Regions from separate parts of the Homo sapiens genome. Here region 2 is linked to region 1. Evidence: promoter capture Hi-C in human tissues and cell types (Jung and others, 2019). All regions are on one chromosome and are shown on one strand. Each heading gives the region's core, a stretch centred on a gene start or on the middle of the fragment in contact. The rest is flanking DNA. Distances are from core to core; before and after follow the strand shown.

Region 1 (3,231 bases), core at 455-2,954:
TTTTCCCCTATTTGGCACAAACATATGGACAACTTTCTCACTCCTGAGTAAAGGAATGATGTACTAAAATGAAGGATTTATACCGGGTGGGGTGGCTCATGCCTGTAATCACTTTGAGAGGCTCAGGTGGGCGGACTGCTTGAGCTCAGGAGATTGATCAGCCTGGGCAACATGGTGAAACCTCGTCTCTACCAAAAGTATAAAAAATTAGCCAGGTGTGGTGGCACACATCTGTGGTCCCAGCTACTCAGGAGACTAAGGTGGGAGGATGGCTTAAGCCTGGGAGGAGGAGGCTGCAATGAGCGAAGATCGCACTAGTACACTCCAGCCTGGGTGACAGAGCGAGACTCCATCTCAAAAAATAAAAAAAGAATAGAAAAGGCTGGGCACAGTGGCTCACGCCTGTAATCCCAGCACTTTCGGAGGCCGAGACGGGCGGATCACGAGGTCAGGAGATCGAGATCATCCTGGCTAACACGGTGAAACCCTGTCTCTACTAAAAATACAAAAAAAAAATCAGCCGGGCGAGGTGGCGGGCGCCTGTAGTCCCAGCTACTCGGGAGGCTGAGACCGGAGAATGGCGTGAATCCGGGAGGCAGAGATTGCAGTGAGCCGAGATCTTGCCACCGCACTCCAGCCTGGGCGACTGAGCGAGACTCCGTCTCCAAAAAAAAAAAGAATGAATAGAGAAACTACAGAACTAGTATGTGTGAACACAACCCAAGGCCAATATGTGTAAGTCTACTGTTTAATTACTATCATAGAATTAATACACGCTGGTCAAAAGAAAACAAGAAGACCTTGAGAAAAGGTTCAGGGAAGTTAGAATCCCAATGTTTGGATGAACAGCATTTATAATTTTAAAATGGAAAATAAAGAGAAATCATTTTTCATGTATCAGTCTACTAAGTTTTGTTTTCATTTTTTAAATAATTTTCTTTTTAAATAATAATACCTACTCTGTGTTGGTAGGGATATGGTAAAAATGGCATTCTTAATTCTGTTAACTTTGGTATAACCTGGAACAAGTTTTTTGATGGGTATTACGGCAATAAGCATCAAGAAGCTTTAAAAGGCACATACCCAATTTTTCAGCTTTTTAAGTATTTATATTTCTGAATAAACTACACTCTCTTTTAGAAATCTACCCTACCGAATTACGTATTTTTAAAAATCCTCGTACAAATGCTGTTATTTACAAAAATGTTCATTTTAGCATTATTGGTGACTTAAAATTAGAAAAATCCTTTCTCTTCCTCTCTCTCCAGACTCTCATAACTGTCATCTGAGTTGGTTCCAACGGATAACGCAGAATAGAAGACAAATGGGAGAAGAATATTGACAAACTGCAAGGTATGCACCCGAGCTACAATAATTCCGAGTTGACAGCTCGATCTCCACTCCCACTCTGCGGATCTTCAAACCTCTGCACAAGGAAGAGGGTCTCTGCCTGGGGCAGTCACTCACCGAACCCCGTGAAGCCCATGGTGACCGCAAGCTGCGGGTCCGGTCCCGACGCGTCTGAGCCTGTCACTGGAGCAAGAGGAAAAGAGAGGCGGCCTAGTTAGTGCGGCGCCCCAGCTCCCCCGACACGGCCCACCCCGCCCGGACTCGCCTCATGAAACCCACCTTCGCTGGGCCCAGAGCGCTCCATGGCTGGCCGCACACCCCAGAACCAGCCACAGGGACAGCCCAAACAACTGCAGGGGAACTTGCCAATAACTTGCGGCAAATGCTGGAGGAAGTACCGCCTTCAAGCTACAGCGGCGCCGCCGAAGCCAAGAGCGGCGCCTTCCGCAGAGGGACCGCGGCTTTCTGCGCGGCACCGCCCTACCGGACAGGCGGGAAAGCGCCGCGCAACTCAGACCACTGGAGGGGAGAAGTAGTATCTGGAGTTTCTATAACATCCTTTCCCTTTTTTTTTTTTTTTTTTTAAGCCAGAGCCTCTGTCGCCCAGGCTGCAGTACAGTGGCGTAATCTCAGCTGACTGCAACCTCTGCCTCCCGGGATCAAGCGATTCTCCTGCCTCAGCCTCCCGAGTAGCTGGGATTACAGGTGCCGGCTAATTTTTGGTTTTTTGTTTTGGTTTGTTTTTTTTTTGTTTTTGTTTTTGTTTTGAGACGGAGCCTCTGTCGCCCAGGCTGGAGTGCAATGGCGTGATCTCGGCTCACTGCAACCTCCGCCTCCCGGGTTCAAGCGATTCTCCTGTCTCAGCCTCCCAAGTAGCTGGGATTACAGGCGTCCACCACCACGCGCAGCTAATTTTTTGTATTTTTAGTAGACACGACGTTTTGCCATGTTGGCCAGGCTGGTTTCGAACTCCTGGCCTCAAGTGATCCGCCTGCCTCGGCCTCCCAAAGTGCTGGGATTACAGGCGACACCCTTTGCTTTTTTTTTTTTTTTTTTTTTTTTTGAGGCAGAGTCTCACTCTGTTGCCCAGGCTGGAGTGCAATGGCGTGATCTCGGCTCACTGCAACCTCTGCCACCCAGGTTCAAGCTCTTCTCTTGCCTCAGTGTCCTGAGTAGCTGGGATTACAGGCGCCTGCCACCACACCCGGCTAATTTTTGTGTATTTAGTAGAGACGGGGTTTTGCTATGTTGGCCAGGCTGGTCTTGAACTCCTGACCTCAGGTGATCTGCCCACCTTGGCCTCCCAAAGTGCTGGGATTACAGGCCCCGTGCCACCGCGCTCTGCCTTTTTGTTGTTGTTGTTGTTGTTGTTGACTGAGTCTCCCTCTGTTGCCTTGGCTGGAGTGCAGTGGCGTGATCTCAGCTGACTGCAACCTCTGCCTCCCAGGTTCAAGCGATTCTCTTGCCTCAGCCTCCCGAGCAGCTGGGACTACAGGTGTGCGCCACCATGCCCGGCTATTTAGTATTTGAGACTACAGGCACCCGCCACCACGCCCAGCTAATTTTTTCTATTTTTAGTAGAGGCAGGGTTTACACCGTGTTAGCCAGGATGGTCTCAATCTCCTGACCTTGTGATCTGCCCACCTCAGCCTCCCAAAGTTCTGCGATTAAAGGCGTGAGCCACTGCACCTGGCCTGTCAGTCTAAAGTTTACAAGGCTAATCGTGTGCTCAGGATTGTCCTTCTTAAACAGAATGTGGGAGTTCAACACTTTAACGTTTAGAAGGTGGAGAAGAATCTCTTTCTTTTTGAGACAGAATCTCACTCTGTCACCCAGGCTGGAATGCAGTGGCACAATCTCGGCTCAATGAACCTCCACCTC
Region 2 (3,094 bases), core at 343-2,842, 53 kb before region 1:
AATTACATACCACACACTGGGTTAGATTAATGATAAAAGAACTATTAACAAAGACTCTGCTTACACAGAACTGTCAGTCCAGAAAAGCAAAATAAGACAGGTAAACAAATGGGCAAATGAAAATGTTTCAGTTGCTGTAACAGAAGTATACACAGGGTTCAGTGCTCAATTCCATTCTGCCTAAGAAAGTAGGTGGTTAGAAAAGAGATTTCTGGTATCTTTCAAAAAATAGAGGTTATCTAGATGAATATGATGAACATCCAGGAGAGAATAATATAAATCTTGACACTTTCTGAACTTCAAGTATTTTTCCCTTACTAGAGTTTGAATTGCTAGGCAGAAAATAGAGCAAGGGTGTATGTGTTATACATATACAGCACTATGCCATTTTTATATAAGGGACTTCAGCATCCTTGCATTTGGGGATCAGCAGGAGAGTCCTGGAGCCAATTCCTCTCAAAGGGCCAACTGTATACATAAAAGCCAGAGAGAGAGTTCCAAATCAGGCTGTATACAATTCCAAAAAACAGAAGTTTAAGCTCTGAGTCATAGAAAGTAATTTGATAAAGTCTGAGATTTTAGGCCAGGCACGGTGGCTCATGCCTGTAATCCCAGTACTTTGTAAGGCCAAGGTAGGCGGATCACTTGAGGCCAGGAGTTTGAGACCAGCCTGACCAACATGGTGAAACCCCATCTCTACTAAAAATACAAAAATTAGCCAGGCGTGGTAGCACACACCTGTAATTCTAACTACTTGGGAGGCTGAGGCACATGAATTGCTTGAACCTAGGAGGTGAGGGTTGCAATGAGCCAAGATCGTGCCACTGTACTCCAGCCCAGGTGACTGAGACTCTGTTCAACAACAACAAAAAAAAATCTGAGATTTTAAAATATCGCCAAGGTGTTCTGGGCATCAAAAGAGATAATCAATACAGTAAAAAGACAATCTACAGAGAAATGGGAGAAAATTTGCGCAAATCTTATATATAAGGGATTAAAATCCAGATTATATATGTTTTTTAATTTCTACAGCTCAACAACAGAAAAAAACAAACCACCTCATTTTAAAATGAGCAAAAGGCCGGGTGCGGTGGCTCACGCCTATAATCCCAGCACTTTCGGAGGCCAAGGCAGGCAGATCACGAGGAAGGTCAGGAGATCAAGACCACCCTGGCCAACATGGCAAAATCCCGTCTCTACTAAAATACAAAAAGTTAGCCAGAAAGGCCGGGCGCGGTGGCTCAAAGGCCGGGCGCGGTGGCTCATGCCTGTAATCCCAGCACTTTGGGAGGCTGAGGTGGGCGGATCACAAGGTCAGGAGATCGAGACCATCCTGGCTAACACGGCGAAACCCCATCTCTAGTAAAAAAAAAAAAAATACAAAAATTAGCCGGGCGTGGTGGCACACGCCTGTAGTCCCAGCTACTCAGGAGGCTGAGGCAGGAGAATCGCTTGAACTCAGGAGGCGGAGGTTGCAGTGAGCCGAGATCACGCCACTGCACTCCAGCCTGGGCCACAGAGCGAGACTACGTCTCAAAGATAAAAATAAAATGAGCAAAAGACTTGAACAGGCATTTCTCCAAAGAAGGTAAACAAATGGCCAATAAGCACATGAAAAGATGCTCAGCATCACTAATAATTAAGGAAATGCAAATTAAAAGCACAATGAAATATCACTTCACACTAGGATCAAAAAACTTTTACTATCAAATAAACAGAAAATAACAAGTGTTGGTAAGGAGGTAAAGAAACTGGAATCCTTGTGCAATGTTGGTAGGAATGTAAAATGGTATAGCTACTACGGAAAACAGCTTGGTAGTATCTCAGAAAATTAAAAATATAATTACTGTATGATCCAGCAATTCCAATTCTGGGTATATACCCAAAAGAATTGAAAGCAGAGTCTTGAAGAGCTATTTGTACATCCACGTTCACAGTAGTATTCACAACAACCAAGAGGTGAAAAGCAACCCAAGTATCCACTGATGGATGAATTAATCAACAAAACGTGACATAAACATAAAACAGAATATTTTTCCGTCTTAAAAGAAAGAAAATTCCGACACATGCTACAACACAGATGAACCTTGAAGACATTATATTAAGTAAAATACATCAGTTAGAAAAAGACAAATACTATATGGTTCCACTTATATGTGCTAGAGCAGTCCGATTAATAGAGATAGAAAGCAGAATGGTTGCTGCCAGGGGCTGGGGGCAGGAGGAAACTGGGAGTTGCTATTTAATGGATATAGAGTTTCAGTTAGCAAAATGAAAAAGTTCTGGGGATTGATTGTACAATAATGTGAATATATGTAACAATACTGAATTGTACACTTAAAAATGGTTAAGACGGTAAACTTTATGTTATGTGTTTTTAGCACAATAAAATTAATAATTAAAAAATCATCAAGGCTGTGGTGTGGAGGCTGAACTAGGAAATTACCAGTATAAGGTAAATGCCAGTGTAAGCACAGGGAAGCCTATTAAAATATTCTTGCAATAATCCAGAGAGGACCTGAATTGACATAATACAGTGGGAATGGAAAAAAGAAAAAAAAAGAGGAATTATATAAGAGATCTTAAGGACTTAAGATGTGAAGAAATAAAGATAGCTCTGTTACTCTCCACCCAAAGCCCTGACGTCACTCTTATAATTAACTATTCAATAAATATTTATTGAGTACTGACTATGCCTAGCACTGATGATATTCTGGTTTTAAAGAAAGAAGGTTCCTGCCTTCATGAATCTTGCAATCCGATGACAGTCAGAACTTTAAATATATATGGCCAGGCACAGGGGCTCATGCCTGCAATCCCAACGCTTTGGGAGGCCAAGGCAGCCTGATCACCTAAGGTCAGGAGTTCCAGACCAGCCTAGCCAACACAGTGAAACCCCATCACTAGTAAAAATACAAAAATTAGCCAGACATGGTGGCACAAGCCTGTAGTCCCAGCTACCCAGGAGGTTGAGGCAGGAGGATGGCCTGAACCCGGGAGGCAGAGGTTGCAGTCAGCCAAGATTGCGCCACTGCACTCCAACCTGGACGATAGAAGGAAAAAAAAACTGTATACATACACATGCTGGGCACGG

What was found. The method cuts DNA at HindIII sites, captures the fragments that hold promoters and counts their contacts. A contact is called where the count stands out against the background at its distance.
Region 2: a fragment that was not itself captured here is called in contact with the fragment with the promoter of WDR70 in region 1 in 1 of the 25 tissues and cell types used here (lymphoblastoid cells).

What each region holds. Positions count from the first base shown.
Region 1 is chr5:37,377,791-37,381,021 of GRCh38, reverse strand. WDR70 (WD repeat domain 70) reads right to left here and starts at 1,704. Exons shown (of 18, transcript NM_018034.4): 1 at 1,630-1,704; 2 at 1,468-1,533. The coding sequence starts at 1,654. The HindIII fragment of the contact is 7,487 bases long and covers 1-3,231 here.
Region 2 is chr5:37,430,848-37,433,941 of GRCh38, reverse strand. All of the region lies in intron 5 of WDR70 (WD repeat domain 70), which reads right to left. Among named protein-coding and RNA genes, the nearest start is that of WDR70, 53 kb to the right of the region's middle. RefSeq lists an enhancer at 807-1,309. The HindIII fragment of the contact is 5,729 bases long and covers 1-3,094 here.